Regions from separate parts of the Homo sapiens genome. Here region 2 is linked to region 1. Evidence: promoter capture Hi-C in 16 types of primary human blood cells and fetal thymus (Javierre and others, 2016). All regions are on one chromosome and are shown on one strand. Each heading gives the region's core, a stretch centred on a gene start or on the middle of the fragment in contact. The rest is flanking DNA. Distances are from core to core; before and after follow the strand shown.

What was found. The method cuts DNA at HindIII sites, captures the fragments that hold promoters and counts their contacts. A CHiCAGO score of 5 or more calls a contact.
Region 2: a contact is called between the fragment with the promoter of PYDC1 here and a fragment that was not itself captured in region 1, in 2 of 17 cell types (monocytes and M0 macrophages). The highest score is 6.2, in monocytes.

Annotation. Positions count from the first base shown.
Region 1 is chr16:31,172,915-31,177,786 of GRCh38, reverse strand. It overlaps the pseudogene NDUFA3P6. Among named protein-coding and RNA genes, the nearest start is that of FUS, 4.8 kb to the left of the region's middle. The HindIII fragment of the contact is 8,665 bases long and covers 1-4,872 here.
Region 2 is chr16:31,214,503-31,219,374 of GRCh38, reverse strand. PYDC1 (pyrin domain containing 1) reads left to right here and starts at 2,240. Exons shown (of 2, transcript NM_152901.4): 1 at 2,240-2,632; 2 at 3,218-3,413. The coding sequence starts at 2,347. The coding sequence ends at 2,616. It overlaps TRIM72 (tripartite motif containing 72), which reads right to left. Exons shown (of 7, transcript NM_001008274.4): 2 at 4,247-4,643; 3 at 185-280; 4 at 1-86. The coding sequence starts at 4,636. RefSeq lists enhancers at 2,105-3,019, 3,935-4,849, 4,850-4,872. The HindIII fragment of the contact is 8,417 bases long and covers 1-2,994 here.

The sequences.
Region 1 (4,872 bases), core at 756-3,255:
GGCACGGTGGCTCACGCCTGTAATCCCAGCACTTTGGGAGGCCAAGGAGGGCAGATCACAACGTCAGGAGTTCGAGACCAGCCTGACCAACATGGTGAAACCCCGTCTCTACTAAAAATACAAACATTAGCCAGGCATAGTGGCGCGCACCTGTAGTCCCAGCTACTCAGGAGGCTGAGGCAGGAGAATTGCTTGAACCCCGGAGGCAGAGGTTGCAGTGAGCCGAGATCGCGCCACTGCACTGCAGCCTGGATGATAGAGTAGAGCAAGACTCTGTCTCTAAAAAAAAAGAAAGACGGAAAGTTATGCTGAAGCTACACAGGAAGTGGCAAAGCTGGGTTCCCAAGCCAGGTAGCCTGCTCTTAACCCCTGCGCTTCAGCAAACATTGCCTGAGCACTGCATAGTATGTTCCAATCATGGGGCCGACTGGATGGATATGGATAAAAAAAAGCTCAGTTCCTAAACCACAGGACCAGCCAGTGGGTGAATGTGGGTGAGACACACAGACCACAAAGTGTACTTGAGTGTAGTAAGTGCCATCACATGGAATCAAAGACTGGAAACCCTGCCAGCAGAGTAAGTCATCCATCAGGTGGACAACCACAGAACACTAAAGAGAGATGGTAACCCTGAAGCCAAGGCTTACTGGATAAGTAGAAGTTTGCCAAGCAGCAAGGGAGGAAAGGCTATAATAGGCAGAACCGCGAAGACAAAGGCACAAGTGGGGAAGACACTGAGGCAGAGTTCAGGCTCCAGCTGTGACTCTGGGCTGGGCATGGTGGCAGATGAGACTCGGCCTCAAAAAAAAAAAAATATGTGACTCTGAAAGACTAAATCAAATGGCCATTTCTTTCTTTCTTTTTTTTTTTTTTTTGAGATGGAGTCTCACTCTGTCACCCAGGCTGGAGTGCAGTGACGTGATCTCAGCTCACTGCAACCTCTGCCTCCCGGGTTCAAGCAATTCTTGTGCTGCAGCCTCCCGAGTAGCTGAGATTACAGGCATGCATCACCATGTCCAGCTAATTTTCCTATTTTTAGTAGAGACGGGGTTTCACCATATTGCCCAGGCTGTTCTCGAACTCCTGATCTCAAGTGATCCACCTGCCTCGAATGTTTTAATTTTTTTAACTAGTTGCCAACACTAAAAATAGTGGGCCATTCCAGGCCCACTTCCATAGGGCAAGGGTCAGCTGGAGTGAGACACTGTCACCTTTAGCTGCCATATGTGCTTTAAGTTCACCATAAATGTCTTATTTACTTCCTATCTCTGACAGGAAAGTCAATGTTAAATTTTTCTTTTTTGAGACAGGGTCTTGCTATGTTGCCCAGGCTGGTCTTGAACTCCTAGGCTCAAGGGAATCCTCCCAAAGTGCTGTGATTAAAGGTGTGACCACCACACCCAGTTTCAATTAACATGTATATCAGATATTGGGCCAGATGCGTTCGCTCACACCTGTAATCCCAGCACTTTGGGAGGCTGAGGTGGGCAGATCATGAGGTCAGGAGTTCGAGACCAGCCTGACCGACCTGGTGAAACCCCATCTCTACTAGAGATACAGAAATTGGCCGGGCATGGTGGCGCGCATCTGTAGTCCCAGCTACTCGGGAGGTTGAGGCAGGAGAATTGCTTGAGCCAGGGAGGCAGAGGTTGCGGTGAGCAGAGATTGTGCCATTGCACTCCAGCCTGGGCGACAGAGCAAGACTCCATCTCAATAAAAAAATAAACACGTATATCAGATATTGATTTTTTTTTGAGACAGAGTCTCACTCTGTCACCCAGGCTGGAGAGCAGTGCTGCAATCTCAGCTGACTGCAACCTCTACTTCCCAGGTTCCAGCAATTCTCCTGCCTCAGCCTCCTGAGTACCTGGGATTACAGATGTGCACCACCACACCCAACTAATTTTTTTAGTAGAGATGAGGTTTCCCTATGTTGGCCAGGCTGGTCTCGAACTCCTGACCTCAAATGATCTGCCTGCCTTGCTTTCCCAAGTGCTGGGATTAGAGGCATGAGCCACTGCACCCAGCTCAGATATCCAGATATTTATTTAGTTAGTTAGTTTTAATTTATTTATTTAATTTTTTTGTTTGTTTTTTTGAGACAGAGTCTCCCTCTGTCACCCAGGCTGGAGTGCAGTGGCACAATCTCAGCTCACTGCAACCTCCGCCTCCGGAGTTTGCAGTTCTCTGCCTCAGCCTCCCGAGTATCTGGGATTACAAGCTCCCACCATTACGCCTGGCTAATTTTTTGTATTTTTAGTAGAAACAGGGTTTCACCATCTTGGCCAGGCTGGTCTTGAATTCCTGACCTCCTGATCCACGCGCCTCGGCCTCCCAAAGTGCTGGGATTACAGGTCTGTGCCATCGTGCCAGGAAGTTACATATATATATATATTTATTTATATTTATATATATTTGTTTGAGATGGAGTCTCGCACTGTTGCCTGGGCTGGAGTGCAATGGCGCGATCTCGGCTCACTGCAATATCTGCCTCCCAGGTTCAAGCGATTCTCCTGCCTCAGCCTCCAAGTAGCTGGGATTACAGGCACCCGCCACCACGCCTGGCTAATTTTTTGTATTTTTTTTTAGTAGAGACGGGGTTTCACTATGTTGGCCAGGCTGGTCTCAAACACCTGACCTCGTGATCCACCCCTCCTCGGCCTCCCAAAGTGCTGTTACAAGCATGAGCCACTGCGCCCAGCCCCAGAATTTATTTTTTAAAGACAAGGTCTCATTTTGTTGGCCAGTTTTGTCTTGAACCCCTGGCCTCAAGCAATCTTCCTGCCTCGGCCTCCCAAAGTGCTAGAGTTACAGTTACAGGCATGAGCCACTGCGCCTGGCCTAGATCAAATATTTAATGCAATTTTTCTTTTTCTTTTCTTTTTTTTTTGAGCAGGGAGAGGTTGGTTTTCACATTTCTAGTGGGAGCCATGGGAGGGTCCTCCTTTGGCAGTGGAGGTGCTCACAATTTCTTCAGCCACTCCAAACTGGGGCCTTGGGGGTCCTGGGGGTGGCTGGGCACATCGGGCATGTTCCCATCATTGCAGACAGGCACTGGGTAGTTGTAGGGCCTTGCCTCGTTGATCATGATGGAGTACTTGGTGTGGGGACTAAGTGGGGGTAGAATTACAGTGAGGCTCCGGATGACAGAGGACAAGACCAGCACTGGCTCCTTGGCCCAGGAAATCTTGAGGAAGGTGCTGAGTCTCGTGGCCTTCTTGGTCTCGGTGGTGATGACAGCGGCCTTTTTTTTTTTTTTTGAGATTGAGTCTTGCTCTGTCACCCAGGCTGGAGTGCAGTGGCGCGATCTCGGCTCACTGCAACCTCCGCCTCCCAGGTTCAAGCAATTCTCCTGCCTCAGGCTCCCGAGTAGCTGGGATTATAGGCACGTGCCCCTACGCCCAACTAATTTTTGTACGTTTAGTAGAGATGGGGTTTCACCATGTTGGCCAGGCTGATCTCGAACTCCTGACCTCATGATCTGCCTGCCTTGGCCTCCCAAGCGCTGGGATTACAGGCGTGAGCCACCATGCCTGGCCTCCTTTTTTTTTTCTTTTGAGTTAGGATCTCAATCTGTCACCCAGGCTGGAGTGCAGTGGTGCAATCAAAGCTCACTGCAGCCTCAAATTCCTGGGTTCAAGCAATCCTCCAAATTTGGCCTTACCAGCATCTGGGACTACAGGCCTGCACCACCATGCCCAGCCTCTATTTGGGTTTTTGTTTTTTTTTTTTTTTTGAGACGTAGTCTCGCTCTATCACCCAGGCTGGAGTGCAGTGGCACGATCTCGGCTCACTGCAAGCTACGCCTCCCGGGTTCAAGCGATTCTCCTGCCTCAGCCTCCAGAGTAGCTGGGACTACAGGCGCCCGCCACCACGCTTAGCTAATTTTTTTGTATTTTTATTTTTAGTAGAGATAGGGTTTCACCATGTTTGTCAGGATGGTCCCAATGTCCTGACCTCGTGATCCACCCGCCTCAGCCTCCCAAATTGCTGGGATTACAGGCGTGAGCCACTGTGCCCGGCCTCTATTTGGGTTTCTAAAAAAGAAAGAGGGCCAGGCTCAGTGGTTCATTCCTGTAATGCCAGCACTTTGGGAGGCCGAGGCAGGAGGATCATTTAATAACATAGTGAGACCCTGTCTCTACAAAAAAATTAAAAATGATCTGGGTTTGGTGGTGTGTGACTGTGGTCCCAGCTACTTGGGAGGCTGAGTCTGGGGCAGGGGGGTGGGGTACTATCCAAGAGGTCAAGGCTGCAGTGAGCTATGACTGTGCCACTGTACTCCAGCCTGAACAGCAGAGTGAGACCCTGTCACAAAAAAAAAAAAGAAAAAAGAAAAAGAGAAGGAGAACAGTTAGGGATATATATATATATGTGTTTACTTATGCATAAAATATCTCTGGAAGAAGAAAAACAAGTCATAGCCTATTTCTGAGGAAGGAATCTGGGGAACTTGGGGTCAAGGATTGAAGGAAATTCACTTTTCCTAGATCCTTTTATATTTTAATTTTTCACTATGTGCATATAATGACCAATTTAAAAGCAAACTGACTCCTACAATGCACCACAGCATGGTAGCTGAGGAGGGTATTATACAGGGTAAGACCTGCCACAGGGGAAGAGTGATTACTTTTGCAGTGAGTAGGGTGGGTCAGCCTTCACTGAGGAGTTGACTTTTTTTTTTTTTGAGATGGAGCCTCGCTCTGTCGCCCAGGCTGGACTGCAGTAGTGCAATCTCGGCTCACTGCAAGCTCCGCCTCCCAGGTTCACGCCATTCTCCTGCCTCAGCCTCCCAAGTAGCTGGGACTACAGGCGCCCACCACCATGCCCGGCTAATTTTTTTTTTGTATTTTAAGTAGAGACGGGGTTTCA
Region 2 (4,872 bases), core at 991-3,490, 41 kb before region 1:
TCCAAGGAGCCCTCCAGTGCAGCCAGGAACACCCGCATCTTGCCCAGCTGCTCCCCCACGGCCCCCCGGAACTGACGCACTGTCTCCTGCAGGGATGGGGCAGTGATTGAAGGGATAAAGACTCTTGGCTGGAGACCCCTAGCCTGGCCCCCAGCCCTCAGACATGGCCCTGTGAAGTCCTCACCTCCACCTCCACCAGCTGATGCTCCAGCACAGCCACACTCTTCTCCTTGCGCATGCATGCCTCCTGCAGCTGCAGTTTCTGCTGTGGCAGCTGTGTCTGGGGGTCGAGGCATGGAGAAGTGATGGGGATGCCACCCACCCAAAACCCACACCTCCCATCCTAAACCTGCCCTCTGTGGCTCAACCTCAATGCCAGCTCCTCCTCCAGCCATCTTCCCATCCCCAAACCCACTTACATGCCTCCCAGCCCCAGCCAGTGCTACTCCTGAGGTCCGAATGCTTCCCCTGCCCCTTGTCTATTTTGGTGCGGTTTTTTATTTATTTATTTTGGTGTTTTGTTTTGAGACAGGGTCTCACACTGTTGCCCTGGCTGGAGCAGTGGCATGATCACAGTTAACTACAGCTTCAACTTCCCAGGCTTAATTGACCCTCTCACTTCAGTCTCCCAAGTAGCTGGAACTATAGGCACACACCACCGTGCCCAGCAAATTTTCTGATTTTTTTTTTTTTGAGTTGGAGTCTCGCTCTGTCACCCAGGATGCAGTGCAGTGGCACAATCTCAGCTCACTGCAACCTCCACCTCCTGGGTTCAAGCGATTCTCCTGCCTCAGCCTCCCAAGTAGCTGGGACTAATTTTGGTGCACCACCACGCCTGGCTAATTTTGGTATTTTTAGTAGAGACAGGGTTTCACCATGTTGGCCAGGCTGGTCTCAAACTTCTGACCTCAGGTGATCCACCCACGTCAGCCTCCCGAAGTGCTGGGATTAGACATGAGCCACCACTCCTGGCCATGATTTTTTAAAATATTTTTGTAGAGACAATCTCACTATATTGCCCAGACTGGTCTCCAACTCCTGGCCTCAAGCAATCCTCCCACCTCAGCCTCCCAGCATGCTGGGATTACAGGCATGAACCGCCACACCCCCAGCCCCTTGTCTGTTTTGTTGACCCCTCCCTGGCCTTGCCTTCCCTGATCCCCTCTGCTCAGCAGTCAGCCCCATAGCACAGGTCTTTGCGAGGATGACAAACATCAGTGTGGTTTGGTCTCTCCCACCAGACAGGCAGGCACAGAGCTTGGCACACAACAGACCTCAGGGGGTACATGAAGGATATATGAAAGAAGAAAGGCAACCTACCCCTACTCCTGGGCTTCCTCTCTTACTTAAAAGCAGAACATCAGCCTCAGTCAGCCTGTCAGCCTGACCACCAAGTCAGCCTGCCTGTACACACATGGGCTTGGAGTAGGGGGCAGGAAATTTAATTAAAATGTCCCCTGCTGGCCGGGCGTGGTGGCTCACACCTGTAATCCCAGCACTTTGGGAGGCCAGGGCGGGTGGATCACGAGGTCAGGAGTTCAAGGCCAGCCAGACCAAGATAGTGAAACCCCATTTCTACTAAAAATACAAAAATTACCTGGGCGCTGTGGCAAGTGCCTGTAATCCCAGCTACTCGGGAGGCTGAGGCAGGAGAATCACTTGAACCAGGGAGGCGGAGGTTGCAGTGAGCCAAGAATGTGCCACTGCACTCTAGCCTGGGCGACAGAGCAAGACTGCATTTCAAAAAAAAAAAAAAAAATGTCCCCTGCACAGACCAACCATTCTGTGGTCTAGATCTTACCCAAGACCTCAAATGCAAATATGCAAATATAGGAGAGCTCCCAATACTCCTGCCAAAGCCATTTTTTTTTTTTTTTTTTTTTTTTTTGGAGACAGGATTGCCTAGGCTGGAGTGCAGTGGCAGAATCACAACTCGAACTCCTAGGCTCAAGCAATCCTTTTGCTTCAGCCTCCCGAGTAGCTGGCACTACAAGCATGAGCAACCATGCCAGGCTACAAAGCCACTTCTTTGCTGGGAGGTGCCTGACCATGGAATCAGTTCCATTCCTGCCTCAATGACTTGCAACCTGTTTCCTCCTCTGCAGATTGGGAACAGCAATCCCCACCTCAACAATTTGGCGCCCCCACTCTCCCAGGGGAAACTGGGGGACCCTCTAGGCGGTGTTTGCAGAGTCCCCTCCCAGCAGGAGCCACAGGGTTGAATAGGAGCTGCCAGATCAGTCTCCTTCCCGGGACATCCCCGGGGGCGGCAGCTCCACCTGCTGCAGGAAAGGTAGGACCTGATGGCTCCAGGCCCTCGGAGGCTCAGAGGCGCAGGGCTGAGCCATGGGAACGAAGCGCGAGGCCATCCTGAAGGTGCTGGAGAACCTGACACCGGAGGAGCTCAAGAAGTTCAAGATGAAGCTGGGGACGGTGCCGCTGCGCGAGGGCTTTGAGCGCATCCCGCGGGGCGCGCTCGGGCAGCTAGATATCGTGGACCTCACCGACAAGCTGGTCGCCTCCTACTACGAGGACTACGCAGCCGAGCTCGTCGTGGCCGTGCTGCGCGACATGCGCATGTTGGAGGAGGCCGCACGGCTGCAGCGGGCTGCGTGAGGGCCACTCTGAGCTGGTACGTGATCTCGGGACCCAACCCCGCTTCCTCGCCAAGGACCCACGCGTCAGGTCCCGCCCAGAGCCTTCCTGTTCCCCTCCTTCAGGGTCCCTCCTGGGGTCCTCCCTCAGACCTCCGGCCAGCCCCTCCCGGGGGCGAAGGGCTGGGCTGCCGCGAACCCTGGTGGGCTGCATCTCGCCCCACTGCCCCCTTCCAGGCTCCTGGGCTGCCTGGGCCCTGTTCCGTTTCATGGGTTCTGTGCTTTCTTCGCAGATAAAGACGGGCAAGGTTGGGCGAGGTTGGGTTTTTTTTGTTTGTTTGTTTTTTGTTTTTTTTTTAGCGGCAGCAAGATTTATTGCAAAGAGCAAAAGAACAAAGCTTCCACAGCATGGAAGGGGATCCGAGCGGGTTGCCCTGAGGTTGGGGTCTTAAGCACAGGTGTGCTGGGATGGGAGGGGTCCCGGGAGGAGGCTCCTGCCCTGAGCTAGGAGACCACCAGCTAGGACTGGGCTGAACTGGGCCAGGCAGGACTGAGAGGCTGGGTCCCTGGGAAGTCTGGGGGCCTCGAATACCAACGAAAGGACGGTGGTCTACCCCTTCTAGGAGGCGGGTCAAGGCAAAAGGAGTAATGCAACGCCTGTGAAGCCAGCCCCACGCGCGCACCAGTCGCGTAAGACAACAGCAGTGTCTCCACCTCGGGGACCAAGGACGCCTCCGTGCCTCCAGACCCCGCCTCCTCCAGCCCCTGCACCTGTCATTTATTCTTCCACTGCCCAATAAATATTCATGGCAGACTTTACTGGGGCTGCGCGCACACGTGCCCGCCGGTAGCTATACGTGTGTGCTTTTGCCACACGGATGACACGCACCAGCCAGTGTGCGTTCGTCTCTATTTGCCTCTGTCTGGGTGTCTCTGCTGGGTACTTCGGGACGCGCACAACTGCGTGTGGGCTCCCAAGGCTTTCGGGACTTCCAGCTCCACCCAGAAAAACATCCTGGACGGGGCTCTCGGTGCCACCCTGGGCCCGCACACATAAGTGCAGATCCCGGCTGCCTAGCCCTTACAGTCTCCCTTCTGGTGAGGCCCCGCCTGGGGACCGTCAGGCCAGCCCAAGTTCCGCAGCTTCAGGGGTGCGTGGGCCTCCGCTGAGCACAAGGGGACAACCCTGCCCCGGCCGCCTGGCTCGGTCCCGAACGCCGCGCCTCCAGTCCAAAGTGGGCCAGCGCCGAGCAGGGAGCCAGCCCGAACGGCCCACCGGGTGCAGGAATGCGAGCGTGGGCCGCAGGGGCTGGTCAGTCCCTGCTCCGCCTGGCTCCGCCCGGCCCATCAGACCCGCCCTGGGGCTCCGCCCGCCCATCTCCAGTTTCCTCTAGGGACTAAGGCCGGGAAACCTACGTTTGCTCAGCGCCCTTATCGCCAGGCTCCATCCCTGCGCGGCTTTCCTCTGCCAGCCCCGCCTTAAGCTCCTCAGACCCTCTTTCCTGGCTGCTTCGCCCCGCCCCCGCCCCCCGCAACTCCAGGAGCTCGTGAGCCTCTCTAGAGACTCAGAATCCAAATCACTGCAGCGACCTCCCCATCGGCCCCGTGCCACCGAACAGCCCCTCCGACCACGATGCGCGCGGATCCCGCACCTTGAGGCGTGCGTGGGCCTCGGCGGCAGGCAGGAGGCGATGACCGCGGTGCGAGCCGAGTGAGGCGCACACTCCGCACACCAGCGCGCGGTCCTGCTCGCAGTAGATGCTCAGCGGGTCCAGGTGCTCCTCGCAGTGGCCCTGCGGCACCTGGGCCAGCCCCTCCACCAGGCGCGCCAGCTGCAGGTTGGTGCTGAGTGCCTGCGGCCGCGTGGGGGCCTGGCAGCAGGGGCAGAGAACGGTGCCATCCGCCGCCGGCTCCCCGGCCACGCGGCCTAGGCAGGCGCGGCAGAAACTGTGGCCGCACTCGGCTGTCACGGGCGCGTCGAACAGCTGCAGGCACAGCGGGCAGGACAGCTCCTGGTGCAGGAGGCCGGGCGCAGCCGACATGGCGGGCCTGGGTGGAGGAGGAGTAGGTTAGGGGGACCCCGCGGCGCCGCGCTCCCGGCCCAGCCCTGGCCCAGCCCTAGCCCAGGCCGGGCCCGCCGCCCCGCAGGGAGAAGCCCCAGCCTGTAAAGACCTCACATCCTACACTGGATGGGACTCTGACGGCCAAGGGGAAAGAGGAACTCGGTCTCAGGCCCAAAAGCAGCCTCCACTGCAATTCTCAGCTCCAACCCCAAAAA